Regions from separate parts of the Homo sapiens genome. Here regions 2 and 3 are each linked to region 1. The links are contacts of gene promoters, found by promoter capture Hi-C in blood cells and fetal thymus (Javierre and others, 2016). All regions are on one chromosome and are shown on one strand. The core of a region is centred on a gene start or on the middle of the fragment in contact, and the rest is flanking DNA. Distances in the headings are between cores, read along the strand shown.

What was found. Contacts are between HindIII fragments. The CHiCAGO score rates a contact against its expected background, and 5 or more counts as called.
Region 2: a contact is called between a fragment that was not itself captured here and the fragment with the promoter of NTRK3 in region 1, in 1 of 17 cell types (naive CD4 T cells). The highest score is 5.6, in naive CD4 T cells.
Region 3: a fragment that was not itself captured here is called in contact with the fragment with the promoter of NTRK3 in region 1 in 1 of 17 cell types (naive CD4 T cells); the score reaches 5.3 in naive CD4 T cells.

What each region holds. Positions count from the first base shown.
Region 1 is chr15:88,254,537-88,258,792 of GRCh38, forward strand. It overlaps NTRK3 (neurotrophic receptor tyrosine kinase 3), which reads right to left and starts at 2,203. Exons shown (of 20, transcript NM_001012338.3): 1 at 2,108-2,203; 2 at 1,748-1,950; 3 at 1,370-1,632. The coding sequence starts at 1,617. The region is part of intron 1 of NTRK3-AS1 (NTRK3 antisense RNA 1); the gene reads left to right. RefSeq lists enhancers at 347-884, 885-1,421, 3,762-4,056. The HindIII fragment of the contact is 4,913 bases long and covers 1-4,256 here.
Region 2 is chr15:86,893,386-86,897,641 of GRCh38, forward strand. The region is part of intron 22 of AGBL1 (AGBL carboxypeptidase 1); the gene reads left to right. Among named protein-coding and RNA genes, the nearest start is that of AGBL1-AS1, 580 kb to the left of the region's middle. The HindIII fragment of the contact is 813 bases long and covers 1,472-2,284 here.
Region 3 is chr15:87,034,242-87,038,497 of GRCh38, forward strand. No RefSeq gene overlaps it. Among named protein-coding and RNA genes, the nearest start is that of LINC00052, 540 kb to the right of the region's middle. The HindIII fragment of the contact is 247 bases long and covers 2,190-2,436 here.

The DNA of each region.
Region 1 (4,256 bases), core at 953-3,452:
AGCGCAAGCAGAAGCTCCATTAAGCCGAGAGGGCTGGTGGGCTTTCCAAAGAGCAGGACTGCAATTCCTCCAGGCTTTGCAGCCCCATGGCCCTGGGCTGAAGCAAGGGGAGGTGCTCCCAGAGCAGCACCAAAGGCAGGTCCGGCCCCCTTAAGTCCGTCGAAGGGGTAAAGAGCCACCCAAAATGCCTTCCTCCAGACCTTGGCCAGGACCTCAGCACAAACCCTTCTCAGCTGCCTACCCATTGCTGAGGGTCCCCAAGGGCTGGAAGCCTTGGGGGAAAAGAGGTGAGAATTATCCTCTGAGCAATTCCAGTATGGTCCACACCCTTCTCCAGGGTGGTAGGTTAGGAAGGGGTCACCTGGCCGAGGTCAACGAAAGAAAAGAGGAGCAGACTCTCCAGTCCCCAGCCCTCGATCTGTCCTCTCCTTTGCGTCTGCTGCCATCCCCACCAAAGAAAAATAGCAAGGAGAAAAGAGCAGGCCACCACTGGTCTCCCTCGGAGGGGGCAGAACCAAGCAAAAGCCAGCCAGAGTTGAATGTTCCAAATGAACCGATCCGCACGATCACACAAGAAACCCCTCTCCTCAAAACACACGCCCTCTCCTCTCCCTGCGCCATCCTGACTCGGAATAGTTCCGAGCAGTTATCAAAGCCCAAACTGGGAAGGGATCTGTAGGCGCCCAGATGCAGATGAGGGTGGCAAAGGGGTGTCTCGGAAATGCCCAAAATGGGGCTGGAGAGGGCGGGCTGCAGGAGGGGAAGGGAAGAGGTAGGCGTCCATGACGGCCTCCACACGTCCAAAGTCTCCCCGCGAGCAGCCAGCTCGCAACTTGTTTACTTGTCAGCATGTTTTGCTGTTTCCAAATGGAAATAGTTAAACACCTCGGCTGGATCGCGAGCAGTCCCTATCTGTCACCTTCCCTGCCGGCTAAGCGCTGCCGCCGCTGCCACCGCCGCTGCCGCCTCTGCCAAAGAATCGAACCTCGTCTACTTTATTCCACTTGAGCGTGGCCAAACTGTTGCTATTTAGTGGGGAGCAAAAAAAAACAATTTGCACCATCGAAACGAGCCAGCAACTGGTTGGGAGGCGGGCGGTAGCTGGGCCCCGCGTGCCCTCGGCGGCCGGGGTCCTCTCCGGGGAGAGGCACACACACGCATAGCCGGATCGCGCCTCGCCAGGGCCGGAGTCACCTGGAATGCGCAGCCGGAGAGCATCTCCCGAGCCAGAGCGAGCCTGACGCGCGCCCAGCGGGCGGCGGGCAGCGGCGAGCTGGGGCGGGCGGAGGGCCGGCTCCCGGCCGCGGGTGGGCAGGAGGGAGACGCAGAGCGCGGGGGAGGCAGGCTGGGGAGCGGCCGCCTGACTTACATGGAAGTGATATTCCTTGAGATGTCCGTGATGTTGATACTGGCGTTCCCATTGCTGTTCCCTGAATCCTGCCCTTCCAGGAGGGGGAAGAGGTTCCCATCGTCCGGCCGCCGGCAATTGATCTCAGTCTTGCTGCAGACACAATTTGCAGGGCAAGCCAGCACGGAGCCCACATAGTCCAGCCAGACGCTTCCCAGCAAGAAAATCCGCCAGAAACTACACTTGGCTGGGCAAAGAGAGACATCCATCTCCGATCGCTGCTTCTAAAAAAGAGGAGGAGGAGAGGAGAGGGGGGTGGGGTGGGGGGAGTGGGGAGAGCAGGGGGGGAAGGAAACAAAGACGGCGAGGGAGGGGGGAAGGGGGAGGGGGGGCCTCTGCCTTTGAAACGCCGAGCGATCAGATGCAAAATCCTTCAGCGTCTGAAACCATCGCGGACGCCGCCGCCGCCGCCGCCGCCGCCGGGTGGGAGCCGCGAGGAGCGCCTAGTGGCGCGGTCTGCCGGGCATGGTGGCCGGCTCGGCGATCGCTGACTCGCCGGGTCCGGGGGCTCTGGAAGCGAGGCGCGCTCTCCGACTCCGAGACTTTGCAGGGTTGCAACAGACGGTGGGGAGGCAAAAAAAAAAAAGGAAAAGGAAAAAATGGTGCTAAAGTCACCAAGTCCCACCTACTGGGCAGAATTAAAACGGACACACCACGCACCTGCAAAACACACACACTCACTCTCACACATACACACACCCGGAGCCCGAGGAAAGGAAGAGAAGGAAGATGCAGTAGGAGCTGCAGCAGCCGCCGCGAATGGCTCGCCGCGCGGCTGCAGAAATGTACAAGTGCTCCGAGCCTTACGAAACGCACGGGTTATCGGAGCGTCTTCCTCGGCTCCCTCCCTCCCTTCCTCCCTCCCTCCTCCCCTCCCTCGTCGCGGCCTCCTCCCCCCGCCCCCCGCCCGGGCTGGGAGCGGCAGGAGAGCGGAATCTCCCCCTCCCTCCCCTCCCCACACCCGTCTCTCTCCCCGCCTGTCCTCTCCCTCCTCCCCACCCACCCACCCACCCACTCGCCGGCTCGCGGCTGTAGCCGGCACCGCCACCCGCAGCCTCGCGGCAGCCCGCCCGCTCCACGCCTCGCAGCGCGGCGCCCGCTAGCCGCAGCCCGGGGGAAACCGAGACCGAAGGGAAAAAGTTGCATTTGAGATTGCGAGGGTCGGGGCTGGGGAGGGAGAGTTGGCGAGCTGGCTGCACGACACGGAAAGGCGCTCTCCTTTCCACTTTTTGGCCCTCGCGCTACCCGGTTTTGCTGCAATCCGGACCGCGGTAGGAAGTGAAATGAACGTGGCGGAGGTGATTGGGGAGTGCTCCCAAGCCTTGGGTGGGGGGCGCTCCCAAGCCTGGGTGGGTGGGGGGCGCAGGCTCACGGACGGCGACGGGGGGTGCCGGAGCGCACAGACACCCCAGAGAAGCACCCAGAGCCGGGGACCGGGACCGCAGACGCGCAGTCCTTGGTCTGAATGACACTCATTTCCGTAATCTAGAGTCTGGGGCTCTGGTCTTGGCTGGGAGGGGACTGCGGGACATGGCACGCTAGGTGCCCCCCGTGCCCGCTGCGCTTTCTTGGAGGTGGGTTTTGCATTCGGCCTTGAGCAGGCATGGATCGGGGAAGGAAGAAACAGGGGTCGAAAGGGCTGCGCTGGAGAGCCGAGGTGGCCCCGGGCGAGCTGTGCGTGCAAGAGAAATGGCCGGGGGAAATTGAGATGCAAGGGGCATATTTTGGCAAGCGCCACGCCAGCACCGTCAGAGGCCGGCTTCTCGGGCTCAGCTCTCGGGTGAGCTGAGCTGGCTGCCGGGTGAGGGGGCGGGCGGGCTGCTTTCTCCGGATTCGGGGGCGCAGAACCTCCTCCTTCCCTCCCACACAAGCACCCCTTCCTGGTAGGGACGCAAAGCAGGTGCAGCTTTCGACGAGAGCTCAGATCTCATCCGGGAAAGAAGTGTGTGTGGGGGGGGCCCCGCTTTTGCGCTGGTAGGGATTTTTTTCTTAATAAAACATAAAGATGCCAAGTGTGAGCTGTTTGCTGAAAAAAAAAAAAACGAGCATTCGCTGTGGGAAAGGAGAAGAAAGGGTTAGGGGAGTCCGAGCAGGCAGACACACTACAGCATTCACACGCAGAAGAAAGCAGGGTTCTCCTTCCCGAGCTTGGAGGAGGGCAGGCGAGGAAGCAAAATACATTGAATTCAATTCAACTGCATCCAGTATCTGAAAGGAGTCTCCCCCGCCCCCCTGTGGATTCCGATGCAGGTCATGCAACTTGCAGGCAAGATGGGGGAAGGGGTATGCCGGTGTCACCGCCTGCCCCAGGCGCAACCACAAACAGGCCGGTCGCCTTCGGGTGGCACTGTCGCTTGGAGTAAAAACTTGGACGAAAAAAATGGAAGAAAAGAACATGCCTATACAAGGCAGTTTTCCCGACTTCCCGTCACGTTCCACCTTCCCTTGGCCCCAGGGAGATTTTTACCCCCGTCGCCATTATGGCCTTGTCTCCAGACTGGCATTTTGCCCTCCCACCAGCAGGCGGGGACAGAGTGTGAAGACCTCCTTGGACTCTCAAACCACTTGCTACTGGCCCTAGGCCAATCCTGGCTGTCCTTAGGCCACTGGGAATTTCCCTGTCACTTCAAGTGCCATTCTGGGATTGGCTTTAGAATATCTGAGAGTCAGGAAACTGAGGTGTAGTCAGATCCTAACACTTGGCCTCTCTTGGGAGGTGGCAGGTGGCAGCAGAGAAACACAGCCTCTCTCAGACCACTCCTGGGCAGGGAACGCCAAGTGGATTCAGCCCAGCATCAGTGCTCCAGCCTGGAACTGAAATGGTTGTGTCCAAAAGATGCCCAGCCCA
Region 2 (4,256 bases), core at 628-3,127, 1.4 Mb before region 1:
ATTAAGGAATGCCACAGGCTGGGTTTTGTTCACCCTGTTAGCATGCAGAATTATTTTTCACTATAGGAAGCTGTCTTTTCCCAACCAAGAAAACAAACAAAACAAAAAAAGCAGAACTAATTAAGATCGTCATATCTCAATAAATATGCAAATGAAAAATCAAAACAAAGAAACTCTATCACATCATAAAGTTGCAAATTGCTGTATAGGCTGGCTTGGAAGAATGGCAAGGGATAGAGTCTTCTTAATGGCTTTGCTTAGAGATTGTCTGAAAGCTGCATTTATATAGGTTTATGTTTGAGGATGAGGATGGTGAACTTGCCAGGAGAAAATTATTTTCATACTTTGTCTCCAAACTCTGTGGAAAGGAAAGGGGAATAAAAATTCAGTCGAGTGACTATGTGTGAGGTTCTATGCTATGGCATTTGTTTCTAAGTGCATCATTTCAAGAAGAAGAGGTTTTATGCTATGGCATTCATTTCTATGTATATCATTTCAAGAAGAAAAACAATAAGATTCCCATTTTACACATGAAGACAACAAAGCTCAGAGAAGGCAAATTCCTGTTTCTCACTTGGTATTTGGAGAAGAATTCAAACCCACAATTACTTATCTGACTCTAATTTTATGTTTTGTTTCTGATTTATATTTTGCCCCTACACCATGACTCTCCAATACCGCCTAAAGTGACTTCACTTTTGAATGTGTGTTTACAGGACATCAAAGCTTCCTAGTGAAAGGAGGAAATAAAATCAATTTTCAGGTGTTTTCTCCATGTATTTCCCACATCTCAATATTAAGGCCCACTCTATCAGTGGAACTACCGTTTGATTTCTGCATGATGCTATAATGCTATTTTCTTTCATTTATATTTAACTTCAGTTGCAAATGGTGAGTATGAATTGAATTCATCAGGTTTGAAAAATCAAGAGGGAGGAGAGAGAGAGAATAGCTAACACCCTACTATTGCTGAAGTTATTGTAACCATGCCTTAACATATGTATTTCATCCTGAGGGAGCTGAATCTGAGCTGCAGAGAGAGCAACTCTGCATGACGTTGGAGCTTTATTTTAGAAGCTGCTGTCTGCTCTCTGGCATGTAGAATGCTGCCCTTAGAAGAAGGTTCTCCTGGACACGGGCTGTGTTGCTCTTCTGGACCGCTAGGCTAACTTAAGTGTGAGGCTGTTTATGAGAATGGGGAATTATCTGGAATGAGCAAACAGTTAATAAGATTGGAGGTGATTTGGTATCTATTAAGTATTCCACACTGCCCTGGGCACAAAGGCAGTACAAGGAGCAGTGGTGAAACCAGTAGGAGGCCACCACACACAGAATTGCTTCTTACCACTGCCAGTCATATTAAACAAAATAGAAGTATCTAGTCAAAGAGAGTGGTCCAACAAAGTGCTCAAACAAGTTAAAGAAGGGAGAGGCTGATGTTCTCAAGGAAGATTTCAAAGAGCTGAATGCAAGCTTTACCTTCAAGATAGAAAGGTTGGCAGGAGTGTCAAGGCAGTTTTATTGCATTTTGCTAGATCTGAACAACTTTGTTCAAAGGGAATAAGATAATGGATTAAGTGGTGGCAGGACACAGTGACTCTGACCACTTGCCAGGGACATCTAACAACAGTGTTTCATCTTTTCATATCCATCCCCTTTTGTTCCTTCTTTCTTTTATCTTCCCTCCTTCCCTTTCTTTTATCTTCCCTCCTTCCCTTTCTTTTTTCCTTCCTTTCTTCCTTCTACTTTCTTCTCTTTCTCTTTTTACTCTTTTCTTCTTTCTCTTTCCCCCCTCTTTTCTTTTCCCAGCCTTACTTTTTTGTTTTTAGATGTAAAACATTATATTCTTTTTTTCTCATTAAAATACTCATTTTAAGCCTTGAGAAAAATATAGAAAATATTGATACATAAAAAATAACCTGTACCTTATGTCATCTTATTCTCATTGTCTAAGTATAACCACTGTCAGCCTACAAGAGTAGACTTTCCAGTTCTTTATCTGACATGTTTAGTTTTTTTTTTTTTAATTATTTTTGCATTTGCGTGTATTTCTTGAGCTCCGTTTTCTTCTTACTAAGCTATATACTATAGTAGTTCTTTTTAGCAGTGGTTTCTCCATGGGAAGATGTATTTACTCATGCAAAAGAAATAAAGGGATTTTTTGAGTATAGAATTGCAGTTTGGGGTTCATTTTCCCTCAGCATTGACAAGACATAATTAATTTCTTTTTTCTGCCTCGCTTTAACATTTTTATTTATTTGTTTGTTTTTGCTTTTGCAAATTAAGCTTTAAATTTAGAATAATTTTATATTTATAGAAACACTGCAAAGATACCACAGAAAGTTCCTTTCACCTAGTTTCCCTTATTTAATTTGTTTTTATGGAAAATTTATTGTTGATCTAAATGTCCCTTATTTAAAGATAATCTGTCTTTATTTCTCAAGTTTTCTAAGATTTGCCCTGCTTTATTGATGTTTATTATGATGTATTTACTTATGAACTTCATATATTTCCTATTTTTTTCTGGTTTCTAGAGTATTTCTTGAAGATGATCATCTTTCAACTGGTATCTTTTTAAATATTATCTCTTACCCATTTACCCTAAACACGACTTTTAAAAATTCCTTCTTGTTTCTTATCTTTGCTGAACTGTGTCTGTGACATTTAACCATTCTATTAAGCTTTTTGTTAAAATGTTTTTTCATTTAGAGAAAAGGCTGTTTAATATTTAAATCTACCTTTTTTCCCAAAAAAATCTTTTTCTTTCATTATGTTTCGAGAACTTATTCTAATTTATTAATTATTTCAAATATAACCATTCTATAGTCTTTTCCAAATGGGTCATAATATTTCAAGTTCGTGAGTGTCTGCTTTTGCTGCTTTTCGTATCTGCTGAGTCTTGTTCAAGGTGGATTATTTCCTCATTTGACTTATGATTTGTTATTTTGAGTGTATCTTCTGCAGGCTGTAGTCTTCACCCCCTCTCAGGAGAGTTCCATATACCCTGGGTTTAAAAAAAAAAAAATACCTGCATGGTAATTTTGTATTTGTTTCTGATGGGGGCCTCAAGTTTTCACCAACAAGAATTACATGGTTTGTGATTCACAATGTAATTGTGAACTCTACATCTGTGTAATCTATGATTTCTATATTTTGTCAACATTTTCCCCCTTCTGGTAGTTAGGTTTTCTAACTTTGTTGCGTTGCTAACATTACTTTCCCATATTTAAATCTCTATTTTTTGTTTCTTTTTTAAAATTAGCATATTGTCTATTGACTTCTGCTGTAAAAGATAAATTATTCCAATATGCATTTTCTTTCTCATGCATATGTTCTTATTTTTATTAGTTATAGCATCACCTTTCCATTGACAAGATTGATAGCATTTATATTCTCTTTTGTAAACATCATTTCCAGATTATCCTTAGTTATATGTTTATTATAACATAGTTCTGTGCTCATCAACACTTCTCTGACCATGCACTCCCCATTTGTGAGATCTTCACTATATCAATCTTTGGATTTCCTAGACTTTCTCAAGTAGTGTCTCCCTCTACCCACTACATGCACATTCCTAAGGAAAGCAAATAGCTTTTATATTTCTTGAGGTCTTGCATGTTAGACAGTGTCTTTCTTTTGCAAAACAATTTGGCTTTTTAGAAAATTATTTAGCCAGATTTTAATTTTCTTTTGGCCTTTTCTGTCATTAGGGACACTGACTCCACAGTAGAGAACATTAAAATCAGTCTATGTTTCTCACTTTAGAAGACTTATTTTTCTACTTACATGCTTATATACTTTTTTCCTTTATCTTTGAATTTGAAACTGCTATAGTGCCTTACATGTTTCTCAGCTCCAAGCACCCTCTTTGACATAGAGACAGTATTCAGTGTTGCAGGATTGAATGGATGATTGAATAAGTAAGATTATATGTTGCTGTGGATCATTCAGTCTATTCTTATTTCTAGTGTATATGATGCACCATTTTGAGCTACAAGTAAGTTTTTCTGTATATGAGATTTTTTTCTATTATATCTTTAAACTATATATTTTCCCATTACATTGATCCTTTATTGTTTTACTTTCACATCTATTATCTTCTCTCCTATTAACTTCTTTCTTATATATTTGAATTGTAACTTTCTCCCCTACATTGGTTTTTCAATGTTTCTTTCATATTTATTACATTTTTCTTATTCCTTGGATATGTTCAGTATGTTTTATGTAAACTTCACAACTCTGATTTTCTTGTCACT
Region 3 (4,256 bases), core at 1,063-3,562, 1.2 Mb before region 1:
ACTATATGGTTTAAAAACTAATATCCCATATAGCCTATATTTGCATATTATATAATATATATTCATAATGTGCATTTATTAAGTCTATTTATTTACATACTTTTTAAAAATTCCTCTACCACTAAAATATAAGCTCCATGAGGTCAGGGATTTTCTTTTTCCATTTATGTATACCACTAATGAACAAAATGATATACACTTAAATGACAACACATATATATATGTGTTCAAGAACTGTGCGGTTTATGCTATAGATTATACCATATATAGTATAGTGTAGAAACAACTTATTTTAAGTATAAAACATTAATTTTTCTGACTGAACCACTTGGTAAATGCCCAAGTAACAGCTCAAGAAACCAGCTAGATCTGTGTGCTGTCCAATGCAACAGCCCCTAGCCACATGTATATGTATATATATATGTGTATATAGCCACATGTATATGTATATGTATACATATATATACATGTATACATGTATACATACATATACATGTATACATGTATACATACATATATACATGTATACATACATGTATACATACATATATACATGTATACATGTATACATACATGTATACATACATATATACATGTATACATACATATATGTATACATACATATATACATGTATACATGTATACATACCTATATATACATGTATACATACATATATACATGTATACATACATATGTATAAATGTATACATACATAATATATATATACAGATACATGTGTATATACATATATGTATATACAGATACATGTGTATATACGTATATCTATACATATAGATATATGTATACGTATATATACGTATATACGTGTATATACACGTATATGTACATATACGCGTGTATATATACACGTACGTATATGTATATATACGTACGTGTATATATACCTGTATATATACACGTACGTATATGTACATATACGTACGTGTATATATACCTGTATATATATGTATATATGTATATATTTAATATATAAACTATGTGTATATATACACATATATAATATACATATACGTATATAAGTATATATATACATATACTTATATACGTATATGTATATATATGTGTATATATATGTATATACATAGAGTTTATATGTTGAGTAAATTAATCAATGGATGAATAATGAACACATACTGCCAAAATTAATTATCTGAGGATCCAAACAAATACATTTATTGGGCACATTGCTACACTGCAGGGACAAAATTATTTTTAGTCTTCTTTCTGCTGGTAAGATTGGCACACTAATTATGAAAATGTAGGGTCTTCTCATTAGAATGGAGATATGTAAAAGGAATCGAACGTATTCAAGTCTAGCAACAGCATGCCCACAAATCCCTTCAGGACACCTTCTCCTGGATTTCACCTTTGAATTTGTAAAAGTTCATGTTGTTGCCTATTGCAAAGTGCAGTCCAGGAGCAGGAAAGAATTGCAGGGGTTTTGTTTCATATTTCATCTCTATTGCTCTTTTGTTATCTACTAGTAATGTCCAGAAAACAAATAAGTAAAAATAGAGATGATGTCAGCAGAAGTAGGGGAGTAGGCAACTCTAACAATTCATTCTTCAAACAGAAACAGAAAAATCAAGCAAAGTTGTCAGAATCAACTGTCAGAATCCTGAAAATCATAAAAGAATTACAATAACCAAGCAAATGCTGAATCAAGAAAAAGACCATTTAAAAATGGTAGAAAAGTTATGTAGCATTTTTACTTGCCCTTGCTCTACCCCTTCTCCAGTTTGGCAGTGATTTTGAAGACAGCAGCCCACTTTCCCAGAACCTCATTTCCTGATTCTGGAGGGAGTATTACACACCTCATTTGCAAAGAATTATGTTTGTTCTAATCTGTCTGTCTGGGGGCTGCTGGAAGAACTGACACAAGTTGCTTGTCATTGTTTTGTCTGATCTGGAACTCACACAGGGTGGAAAAACAGCATGCAATCCTTGAGAACCTTGTAAATCAACTGAAGAAGCCAAAATCACCTGAGGCAAAAGATTATGGCTGAAGCATACAGGAGAATACCCAAAGCATGGGTGAAAACATAAGAAGAGAGATTCTTTGGGAAAGTAGGCTACTCAAAGACACCTGTGTATACTGAAAGATTTAGAAAGGTACACATATGCCCACGACATGATACATGCTCAGAAAAGACCTGGGAAAGCCCTAAGCTTTCACTTAGGGCTAATCTCTAGGCTTGGAACAAGCAGGAAGCGAAAACTAAGGCTAAACATCGAAGGAGTGACCCAGCACATAGCCAATCTGCAAATAACACAGGGGCTATTCCTTTTGAAGGGGTAATATAACACCACTACTTGTTTCTTTCTTTGCCATAAAAGACACAGATTTGCAGTCTGTTTTCTTTTTAAGATTGTGAACTAAGAATCATTAACACAAAGTAATAGCTTCAAACATAAGCTTCAAAACATGGAAGACAGAGGTGGGAGAATAGTACATTCTTTTTGCAGAATAAAGTGAAATTAATCTGATGTTGGAAGGCTGAGCTGTTACTCAGCCTATCCTGCAAAGGCCAGGATAAATAGATTATTATTATTATTAAAATTTGTTTCCTCCTCTTTTTTTGTCAATTTTCTTATTTTGGAGGTTGACGTTCCTGGCATGTAAGGAAGTATCTGCCAAAATACTTGCTGAATACAAACTAAATGAACAGAGACTTTGGAGATCACACGTGAAGAAGACTATACAGTACAAAATTAGTTCAGCAAAATTACTAAACCAATGGCTACAGCCTATAACAAGCAACTAATACAATTGCAGAGGATAGGGAAAAGTCTGATTTCCAGAGTTATCACACTCTAGTATTAAAAATGTTTGTTTTCAAAATTATGAAGCACGAAACAAAACAAGAAAGTGTGGTCTATTCACAGAAGAAATTTATAGGAACGGTTCCTGAGAAAGCAGACATTAATTTACTAGACAAATAACTGTAATTCAACTACCTTAAAGAGCTACAGGAAACCAGAATAATTACATATGAATAAATAAAAAATATAAATAAAGAGAAACTATAAAAAACAGAAATTTTAAAGCTGAAGATATAATAACTGAAGCAAAAAACTCACTAAAGGATACCAATAGCAGATTTGAGCAAACAGAAAAGATAATCAGAGAAAATGTGGGTAGAACCATTTAAAATATTCAGTCTGAGGAACAGAAGAAAAATAGAAATGAAGAAAAAGGAACAGAGCCTAAAGGTTTTGTGGGACACCATTAGGCATAAAAACATACACATAATGAGAATCCCAGAAGGAGATGAAAGGGAAATAGGAGAGAAAATAATATTTGAAGAAACTCTAAAATTTGATAAAAGACATATCTACACATTCAAGAATCTCATTCTCAGATAAACAAAAGCTGAAGGAGTTCATTGCTGGTAGAACTGCCCTACAAGAAATCCTAATTAGAATCCTTTGGCTCAAATTAAAGAATATCAGACAGAAAATCAAAGCTATATGCATAAATGATAAATCCTGGTAAAGATAATTACATAAGGATAAAAGCTGATATTATTGTATTTTTAGTTTTTGTTAACTTTATTTTTTATATGATTTAAATGCATAAAACAATATAAATCTATGTTAATGGATACATCCTATATAAAGATGCAACTTGCCACAAAAATAACATAAATTGGGGGGAGGGAGGAGCTGTATTAAAGCATAGTTTTTATGGAAACTTTGAATCTATATTTGTATCATTCAGACTAATTTCTGAGTGGAACCACTCAGAAAATATCTTTTAAGATACACACAGATGGCAATGAGAAAAAAATTAAAGTGGCATACTGCATACATATACATATACACATACATATATACACACATATATTTTTCAGACATTGGACAACAGGTAGGATAAGACTGTGATCCCTAAGAAAATGGAAATTAAAGAGCTGGTCTAAATCACTATCCCAGTTTTCTGCCTAGAGTCCATTAGCAAAGGAAGAAGAAATTTAATCAGAGCCTGAAGGTTTTGCTGATAAGAGAAGACAGAGAAAAAATCTTGGAAAGTCAGGGGTAACTAGAATAGGTGAAAGAAGAGCACCAGAGAACAAAGGATTACTCACAGGGAGAGCCACAGAAATCTGCAGGGGCCCTTTTGAGTCTCCGGCTAAATATTACTCTCTACAGGGAAAGAGTAATCTTCTATGAAACCTAAAAAGAACAATTGCCGGGAAACTATGTGCTAACAACTTCCAGATTTCTTACAGGGCTG